Regions from separate parts of the Homo sapiens genome. Here region 1 is linked to region 2. The links are contacts of gene promoters, found by promoter capture Hi-C in blood cells and fetal thymus (Javierre and others, 2016). All regions are on one chromosome and are shown on one strand. Each heading gives the region's core, a stretch centred on a gene start or on the middle of the fragment in contact. The rest is flanking DNA. Distances are from core to core; before and after follow the strand shown. Region 1 holds the start of LOC105372379 (a long non-coding RNA gene). Region 2 holds the start of CD22 (CD22 molecule).

Evidence for each region. The method cuts DNA at HindIII sites, captures the fragments that hold promoters and counts their contacts. A CHiCAGO score of 5 or more calls a contact.
Region 1: a contact is called between a fragment that was not itself captured here and the fragment with the promoter of CD22 in region 2, in 2 of 17 cell types (monocytes and naive B cells). The highest score is 5.9, in monocytes.

Annotation. Positions count from the first base shown.
Region 1 is chr19:35,203,077-35,208,033 of GRCh38, forward strand. It overlaps LOC105372379 (a long non-coding RNA gene), which reads left to right and starts at 2,045. Exons shown (of 3, transcript XR_935938.2): 1 at 2,045-2,200; 2 at 3,077-3,316. RefSeq lists enhancers at 6-523, 524-1,041, 1,042-1,559, 2,535-2,704. The HindIII fragment of the contact is 3,198 bases long and covers 306-3,503 here.
Region 2 is chr19:35,325,382-35,330,436 of GRCh38, forward strand. It overlaps CD22 (CD22 molecule), which reads left to right and starts at 3,806. Exons shown (of 14, transcript NM_001771.4): 1 at 3,806-3,849. RefSeq lists enhancers at 4,383-4,432, 4,503-4,552. The HindIII fragment of the contact is 19,927 bases long and covers 1-5,055 here.

The sequences.
Region 1 (4,957 bases), core at 655-3,154, 120 kb before region 2:
TTGTTGACAGAAAAGCCAAACTTTGTGAAATATTTAAAGAGGTTTATTCTGAGCCTATAAGAGTGGCCATGGCCTGGGGTACAGTCTCAAGAGATCCTGAGAACATGTGCCTGAGGGGGTCAGGTTACAGTTTGGTTTTATACATTTTAGGGAGACAGGAGTTACAGGCAAAGACATAAATCAATACACGGAAGGTGTACATTGGTTCAGCCTAAAGAGGTGGGATATCTTGAGTCAGAGGGTGGGGAACAGGGCTTACAGGCGGATTCAAAGACTTTCTGATTGCCATTTGGTTGGAAGAGTTAAGCTTTGCCTAAAGACTGAAGAAGTCCTTAGAAAAGAATGCTTGAGCTAACATAAGGGGTTGTAGAAGACAAGGCCCTTGTTATGCAGATGAAGTCTCCTAAGTGGCAGCGCTCAGAGAACATGTGACCAGGGTCAGCTTGGAATTTGGGATCTGATTGCCATAAAGAGTCTACTCTGTCAGTCCTGTGATCTGTATTTTAATGTTAATGTTGGTCAGTTGGGCCTAAACTCCAGAAGGGAGGGGCTAGAATGAGGCATGTGCACCTCCCATTTCTTCATGGCTAGAATTCAGTTGTTCAGATGTCTCTGGGGTCCCTTTGGCCCAGAAGGGGGTCCACTTAGTTAGTTGGGGGGCTCAGGATTTTATTTTTGGTTCAAAGTATATATTCTAGGTTGTGATGTCAAATGACTCTCTTACAGTTAACAACAAAAGTGTGAAAGCTACTGTGGTTGATAGCAATATCCTTTGGTTTAGTAGCTTTGTTTTATTTTCCATGTTATTACTTGGAAATTCTTTTCCCCTGGACCCTCCTAAGTCTCTGTCTCCTATCCCCCAGAGACCTAAAGGGTGAAGACACTGAGCTTCCAGATTTGAGGGCAGGAGAGTCCTAGTGAGGCCTGGCTTGGAGGCCAGGGAACTTCCTATTCCAGTCTGCAATGTTACCCTTCAATCTCCAGCTCCCCTGGCTGTTGGTGCCCACCCCAGAGTTGTGGAAGCCCTTTCAGTCTAGCTGCCCCACTTGGTGACAGCATGGGCAGGGCAGGACAGGGAGCATCATGGGGTTCATGCTTTCTGCCGTCCAGCCTCCCTACATGCAGGGCGATGGCCCCTAGCTGACCCTTGAGAGCTGAGGGGAGGCTAGGAAGAGGGTTAAAGGCGAAGCCAGACCCAGGCCATTACTGAAGTCACATGGCCTGCCAGGAAACCCCTGTCTATATTGTAGCTGGTTGAACTAATTATATTATAAATACTTTTCCATTTTCTGCCTAGAACCATGCTCTAGACATCTGCATGAGGTCATTAAACCTGCACCACAGCCATGCACACACACGTGTGTGTGTGTGTGTGTGTGTAAAAGACAGACATGAGGTATAGAAGAGCAATATAGAGGTCTCCATATTATGGGGGAACAGACAGTCCCAGAGCAGGGAGGTCACTTGAACAGGGTCACAGAGGCAGGAGGCCACGAACCTGGCTGGACACTGCAGGGCCAAGCAGGTAAACACTGTGCCTGACTCGCACCCAGACTTCGCAACAACCCTAGAATATTCATAAGTCAGTAATAATAGTGTTACAGGAAAGGAGTCCCGATCCAGACCCCAAGAGAGGGTTCTTGGATTCCCACAAGAGAGAATTCAGGGCAGGTCCATAAAGTGAAAGCAAGTTTATTAGGAAAATAAAGGAATAAAGAATGGCTACTCCATAGACAGAGCAGCCCCGAGGACTGCTGGTTGCCCATTTTTATGGTTATTTCTTGATGATATGCTACACAAGGGGTGGATTATTCATTTCTCCCCTTTTTAGACCATAGAGGGTAACTTCCCGACATCGCCATGGTATTTGTAAACTGTCATGGCGCTGGTGGGAGTGTAGCAGTGAGGACGACCAGAGGTCACTCTCGTGGCCATCTTGGTTTTGATGGGTATTATCTGGCTTCTTTATTGCATCCTGTTTTATCAGCAAGGTCTTTATGACCTGCATCTTGTGTTGACCTCCTATCTCACCCTGTGACTCAGAATGCCTTAACCATCTGGGGATGCAGCCCAGTAAGTCTCAGCCTCATTTTACCTGGCCCCTACTCAAGATGGGGTTGCTCTGGTTCAAACGCCTCTGACAGGGTGACAACTGTGACCACAACAGATTCACAAACATGACATTTTCAGAGAGAGGAAGGTATGCAGGGTGGTGTGATTTGGAAGAGGCTGTGGGCGTAGAGGGATGGGTAATTCAGTTGGGGTGGTCAGGGAGGGCTGCTTGGTGGAGGGGACTCTTGGCTGAGACCTGAGGGCTGTGAAGTTCTTAGAGAAGGGTGTTCCAGGCAGAGGGAACAGCAAGCACAAAGGCCTGAGACGAGAGCTAGCTTGGTATGCAAGAGGAACAGAAAAGAGGAAGTGAGAGTAAGGCGGGGGAGGGAAGGGGCAGGGAATGGAGGCTGTGGAGAGGGGAGGGTTTCCAGGCAGCCCAGGACCCTCAAGGAGAGAAACGTTGGATGTAGTCTCCCAGGTAGGGTCCATCTGGCCCTTCCTCCTGGCTCCTGCGGAGTCCGAGTGGCTCTTTCCCTCCTTCCCTCCTCTCCCCTCCTCCTTCTCTCCCTCTCCATTTTCCCTGCAAGGTCTGCAGCCCAACTCCAGCTCTCCCATTACTACAGGGGCTGGTGGGTCCTTCTGAGCAAGAAGATGGGGCTCTTTGTCTACAGTGTCTGTCTATAGTCATTCACCCACTCATTCATTTAATCATTCACTCATTCATTCATTCATTTAGCCACTCATTTGTCAAATATTGATTTTTCTCAGGTGTTTTGCCCTCACAGGTCCTGCCGCCTAAAACACTGACTTCTTATCTCTCAAGGCTTTGCTTTCAACACTGTCTCTTCCAAGACCTCTCCCTGACCACTCCCAACTTACTAAACCCCTATCACCCTGTTAGCTTTTGAATGCTCTTCATGGTAAAACAGGACAGGTTGATGCTCTCCGGGGCTCTCTCTACACACAAGAGAGAGATTAGCCTGACGGGCATTCGTTTACCCTTCTCATTTTCTTTGGGAACCAGCCTCCCCTGCTCTTAGTCTATGTGATTCGGACACAGCCAACTACATTTCCCAGATCCAGAAATGAACACGCCATTCCAAGTAAAGCCAATGAGAGACAGCTGCAGGACTTTTGCTGGAACTATTGGGAAAGTGGTGTTTCTTTTTCTGCTATGGTTACTTATCTGCTATGCTCTAAGCCTGGAACTGCTGGAGGTCATCTTTGCTGCATGAAAATGAAGTCAATATTGAGGACAGCAGAGGTGAGAGGGAGAGAGGCATAATCCTGAGTGTATTGCAGGGGCACCTGGATCCAGCCATACCTGAAATCCGAGACTTTCCATTCTAAGAACCAATACATTCTCTTTGTACTTAAGCTAGTTTGGGTTTTAATCACTTGTGCCAGAAGGCCTGATTGATAATAAAACCTCAAAGATAAGCAGGCAGTCAAGCTTAGGTACTTTCCTTTTAAGAGATGCGGGCAGGTGCTTCCTTCTCTCAGAAACCACTCCTCCTCTAGGACCTTCTATTCTAAGAAGCCTGGGTGTTTGAGGTTCGTTCATCCTGAGGCATAAAAACAAGATCAAAGTGCCAGGCCAGACGGAGGCAGAGTGTCTACAGAAGCAGCCGTGCAACTAGCAGCAGGAATTGGGAATCTGCATTATTAATAAGCAAGCCCATTTTCCTTTACTTCTTTGTAAGCAGAGCCTTAATTTTATTAGCCTGTTTATTAGCTCTGACCATGTGTTCAGAAAAAGTACCCTCAGCCTCTGAGTGATCTAAGCCAGGCATAGTTCTCCTGTCTTCTTGTTGGTGATTGGTTCTGGAAAAGGCTGGGACACACTCCTGGCCAAGGAGAAGTCACAGCAGTGACTGACTTGGAGGGGGAGTCTGCTGGGGGCTGGCTAGTGGAAGGCATCTGGGGTAAAATGTTTTTGCTCTTAAAAAGTACTGTAGGAGGCCAGGCATGTTGACTCAGGCCTGTAATCCCAGCACTTTGGGAGGCCAAGATGGGCAGATCACTTGAGGTCAGGAGTTCGAGACCAGCCTGGACAACATGATGAAACCCCATTTCTATTTTTAAAAATACAAAAATTAGCTGGGCATGGTGGTGTGCACCTGTAGTCCCAGCTACTCAGGAAGCTGAGGCAGGAGAATCACTTGAACCTGGGAGGCGGAGGTTGCAGTGAGTGGACATTGCACCACTACACTCCAGCCTGGGTGACAGAGTGAGACTTCATCTCAAAAGAAAAAGAAAAGTACTGTAGGAGGCCAGGTGTGGTGGCTCACACCTGTAATCCCAGCATTTTGGGAGGCCAAGGCAGGAGGATCGCTTGAGCCCAGGAGTTCGAGACCAGCCTGAGCAACATAGCAAGACCCCATCTCCAAAAAAATTTTAAAAAGATACACAAAATTTGCCAGGCGTGGCGGTGTGTGCCTGTATTCCTGGCTACTAAGGAAGCTGAGGAGGGAGAATCACCTGAACCTGGGAGATCAAGGCTGCAGTGAGTCATAATCACACCACTGCACTCCAGCCTGTGTGACACAGCGAGATCCTATCTCAAAAAAAGAAAAAAATAATAATGTAAGAGAAATAAACTTTTTCTTTTCCTCGCAGAGAGAATGTGGCAGTGTGAGGAGGCATTTGCTGGCTTAAGCTGGGCTCTCAAACTCTTAGTCTAGAGCAGAGTTCTAACAGCATCACGTGTTTTTGCTTTCTCTTTCATCCACGTTGAAGAAGAGGGGGTAGTAAAAATATTCCTCTGGTTTAACAAAAAATTCACAAATATTTATCCTTTTCAGAATCTACATGCAATTTAAGTATTAGTCCCAGAATCACAGATGCTGGAATGTTAAAGTTTCTTTGACAAGACATACTGATGATCTCTGAAGTCCCTGCGGCC
Region 2 (5,055 bases), core at 2,556-5,055:
GTCAGATATGTGGTTTGCAAATATTTTCTCTTAGTCTGTAATTTGTCTTTTCATTCTCTTAACTAGGTCTTTTACAGAGCAAAAAAAAATTAATTTTGATGAAGTTGGATTGATTTTTTTAGGGATCATGCCTTTGGTGTCATGTCTAAGAACACTTCATCAAGCTCTAAGTCTCACAGATTTTCTCCTATGTTATCTTCCAGAGGTTTTTTGTTTTTATTTTATTTTACTTTTTAATTAAGACAGAGTTTCGCTCTGTTGCCCAGGCTGGAGTGCAGTGGCAGGATCTCAGCTCACTGCAACCTCCGCCTCCCAGGTTCAAGTGATCCTCCTGCCTTGGCCTCCTGAGTAGCTGGGACTACAGGCACGCACCACCCAACTGGCTAATTTTTTGCATTTTTATGTGGTTGCTTTCGAGAATTTTCTCTGCCTCTTGTTTTTAGAAGTTTGACTATGATGTGTCTTGGCATGAATTTCTTTGGGTTTATCCTGTTTGTGATGCGCTCAGCTTCTTGAATCTGTAGACATATGTTGTGCGTGTGTGTTGTCAAATGAAGATAATTTGCAGCCATTACTTCTTGGAATATTTTTTTAAGGCCCACCCTCCTTTTCCTCCCCTTCTGGGACTTCAATGACAAAATGTTAGATCTTCTTTTATTATAGTTACTCATGTCCTTGAGGCTTTGTTCCATTTTCTTTCATCTATTTTCTTTCCATTGTTCAGAATGGGTAATTTCTATTGTTATACGTTTTGTTTCACTGCTTCTTTCTTCTATACTCTCCATTCTGCTATTGAGCCCATCCATTATGGTTTTTATTTCAGCTCTTGTATTTTTTAGTTGTATTTTTTAGTTCTAAAGTTTCCATTTGGTTCTTCTTTATATTTTCTATTTCTTTGCTGATACTTTTTATTATTTTATTTGTTTCAAGCACATTTATAATTTCTCAGTGAAACACTTTTATGATGGCTGCTCCAAAATCTTTGTCAGATAATTCTAACATCTGTGTCGTCTTGATGTTTGTGTCTGTTAATTATCTTTTGTTATTCAGTTTGAGAATGCCTGATTCCTAGTATGACAAGTGATTTGCCATTGAAGTCAGGATATTCTGGGCACTGTGTTATAAGATTCTGGATCTTCTTTAAATATTTTGTTTTAGTGGGCTTCCCTTTATACTGCTCCAGCGAAATAAAGTAGGGCACTGCCTGATTGCTTCCAGACAGGGATAAAAGTCCAGGTTCTCCATCCAGCCTTTCCTGAACCTGGGGGGTTGGGAGAGATGAGGCCTCCATGTTATTGTTTGGTAAGGGTAGAAGTTCAGGTTCCCCACTAGGAATCCATGACAACTCCCTGGCTGGGAGTGGGAGGGATGCTTCATTACTGCTCCCTATGTGGCTTTCACTGACACTGTGTGTGGCAGAGAGAGGGGGGTGCTTGTTACCACTGAGTGGTGGCGAAAGTCCCAACTCTCCACCAGGCCCCCTTTGACACTACTCCAATGGGGCCGGGTGGAATGCCTCATTTCTGCATTGGGGTGGCAGTGGATGTCCAGGCTGCCCACATGGTTTCCACCAACACCACATCGGGGGAGGGTGATCCCAGTGGGGAGGAATGTCCCAGCTCCAACTCTAGCATCACTCTGGCTGAGTATGGGAGTGGCCTAGGGTTCTTTGTTACAGCCTGGTGAAGGTGAATGTCTAGGTTTTCCATCCGGCCTTTGCTGACAAGGGTGATGATGGAACTTGGATGGAGCGGAGCAGGTATGGACTAAAAGAGCTCTGTCTTTCTAGGATGCCCCTTTCCTCGTTCTTTGGCTAGAAAAGCATAGTTTTGCTAGAACTTGTTCTGTTGGGACTTTTTCTTGTTTGTGCCCCTTGGCATTTTCAGTTGTTGGCTTCTCCAGTATTCAGCCTGAGATATATGAGGCAAAGAGAAATCCCAGGGAATTCACCACCATTCCTTAAGTCCCGAGGTTCCTAACCAGTCTGCTTCTCTCCATCTTTCAGTCTTCTTATGCTTGTCTTGTCACGTTCAAGGTTTTCAGTTATACTTGGCAGAATAAATAAATACATCTACTCCATCTTTCCAGAACATCACTGCTTTTTGTTCATTTTATTTATTTATTATTTACTGAGACAAGGTCTTACTTTGTTGCCTGGGCTGGAGTGCAGTGGTGCTATCATGGCTGACTGAAGCCTTGAACTCCCAGGCTCAAGCGATCCTCCTGCCTCAGCCTCCCAAGTAGTTTGGACCACAGGCATGGGCCACCATGCCCAGCTACTTTTCATTTTTTGCTTTTGTTGACTAGCCCCACAGAGTTTTGCTGTGTTGTTCAGGTTGGTCTCAAACTTCTGGCCTTAAGCAATCCTCTTGCCTTGCTCTCCCAAAGCGTATTACAGGCATAAGTCACCACACCCAGCCCTATCGGTGCTTTTGGAAGAAGGTGTTCTTCCCTCTCTCTGTTTCCCTCCCTATGGCCAGCTGCCCATAGAGGGCAGTGGTGCTGGAGTGAAGACCTCTCAGCGCATCCCTCTTCATCTGTAGGATGTGCATGGCTTCCAATGCTGTCTGTTCTGCTCCTGAGACACTCGCTGGCTACAGGATTATAAAGGTGATGAGGTTTCAGCCTAAAGACTCTCCATTCAATAACACTTCCTACAAGATATCTTTTTTGTTTTTTTGAGACAGGATCTGGCTCTGTCACCCAGGCTGGAGTGCCACAGCGCGATCTGCTCACTGCAACCTCAGCCTCTCGGGCTTAAGTGATTCTCCTGCCTTAGCCTCCTGAGTAGCTGGGACCACAGGCGCCCGCCACCACACCCAGCTAATTTTTGGATTTTTTTTTTTTTTTTTTTTAGTAGAGATGGGGTTTTACCATGTTGCCCAAGCTGGTCTTGAACTCCTGAGCTCAGGCAATCCACCCGCCTTGGCCACCCAAAGCGCTAGGATTACAGGCATGAGCCACCATGCCCAGTCCTACAAGATATCTTTTCTTTTTCTTTCTTTCTTTCTTTCTTTCTTTTTTTTTTTTTGAGACAGAGTCTCACTCTGTCACCCAGGCTGGACTGCAGTGGTGTGATCTCTTCTCACTGCAGCCTCCGCCTCCTGGGCTCAAGTGATTCTCCTGCCTCAGCCCCCTGAGTAGCTGGGACTACAGGCGCCTGCCAAAACACTTAGCTAATTTTTTGTATTTTTAGTAGAGACGGAATTTCACCATGTTCGCCAGGCTGGTCTCGAATTCCTGACCTCAAGTGATCCACCCGCCTCAGCCTCCCAAAGTGTTGGGATTCCAGGCATGAGCCACCGCACCCGGCCGAGATATCTTTTTCCTCCTCAATATCTATGTGCTCCTCCCTCAACCCTTGGGGGCTTCAGTGTAGGTGGTCAGATTCCCCACCATTTATGCCTATGATGAAAAGAGTGGAAATGGTAATAACTGGATGGTGTCACTAAACTACAAATACTTTCAGGTAGGCCTGTGCCTTTTTCAGCGGGCTGCAGTTCTCCTGCTTGGCTTGAGTCATTCGCATTTCCTGAGAGCTGGGTAGAGGGGGAGTTGTGGAGGAGCCCATTCTGAAACTGATCTGATATTGCAAACCCATACACGGAAAGGAAGAACTGCCCATACGTATTCGAGTCTTCCAATCTGACTCCGAGCCCGCATCCCCCTCAATCGTCTCTTTTCCCCACTCCCCAGATCACGGTGCTGCTTGGTCCCCCTCAGAGCCATAGAGAAGCAGGGGGTGTGGCCATGGAGGGGAAACCTCTGTCACCAGAGACTTTACTGTACTTCTCCTTTTGCTCTCAGATGCTGCCAGGGTCCCTGAAGAGGGAAGACACGCGGAAACAGGTAAAAATCATTTTGCTTTTATTTTGCATTCAACAAGCAAGTTATTACGGAACAGCAGTTATGGGCCAGGCATACCTCCCAGAGCTGGGAACACAGTGGGGACCTCCCTGGCTCTCTCTTACCGGTGTTACAACAGGTTGTAGACAGACCCCTGTCTTGAGCATCCTCCTTGCCAGGCCTGCTGAGTCTTCTGAGAGTAGGGTAGGTTATTGGATGCCCAGGAGGGAAGAAGGAGCCAGGGAGGTCAGCCCCAAGGTTCTGCAAGGCCCTCAACAGGCCTGGACTGAGGAGGTCTGGACAGCATGGCCCTGTCCTGAGCCTCTGTGCATAATAACTGCTGTCCCTAACCTCCACCCCACCCTCAGCCTTCCAATTCCCGGGCCTGGGGCCCTACTCCTGTGCTCCAGAGACTCCTGGAGCTCCTTGAGGCAGCACACAGTCCTGCTCTGGAGGCGCCCATCTCCCACTCATGCTGGGATGCTCCAGCCCGTCCCAGAGCAGGTTGTGGCTGGAGGGTGCTGGCAGAGGAGGGACAATGGCCCGGCTCCTGGAGGCAAGTGTTGGCTGCAGGGAACGGAGTCTAGTCCTTGCCACAGCCCTTGTTACCCCTTAGGTAACCTTAAGGGGATTTCAAAGAACTCTGGCTCTGCAACCCTGCTAAGTTTTTTATGGAACATGTAAAATAGATCCCATGGCCAAAGAAGTATGGACAATGTATTATACTATACTCTAATCCCCATGTCTAGAGATTAATGGTGTAGATAGAGTTTACTGAAAGGTTTTTAAAGTCCTGCAGTAAAGAATCTTACTTAAGCCAGGTGCGGTGGCTCACGCCTGTCATCTCAGCACTTTGGGAGGCCAAGTTGGGGGGATCACCTGAGGTCAGGAGTTTGAAACCAGCCTGGCCAACATGGTGAAACCCCATCTCTACTAAAACAAACAAACAAACAAACAAATCAGACGGGTGTGGTGGCACATGCCTATAGTCCCAGCTACTCAGGAGGCTGAGGCAGGAGAATCACTTGAACCCTGGAGGCAGAGGATGCAGTGAACTGAGATCACACCACTGCACTTCAGCCTGGGCGACAGAAGAATGAGACTCTGTCTCAAAAGAAAAAAAAAGAATCTTACTTAACTCTTTTACCCTGCCTTTCTCAAGTGTATGTGACCTTGAAGATGTTTTTTGCATGTGACATGATGAGTACC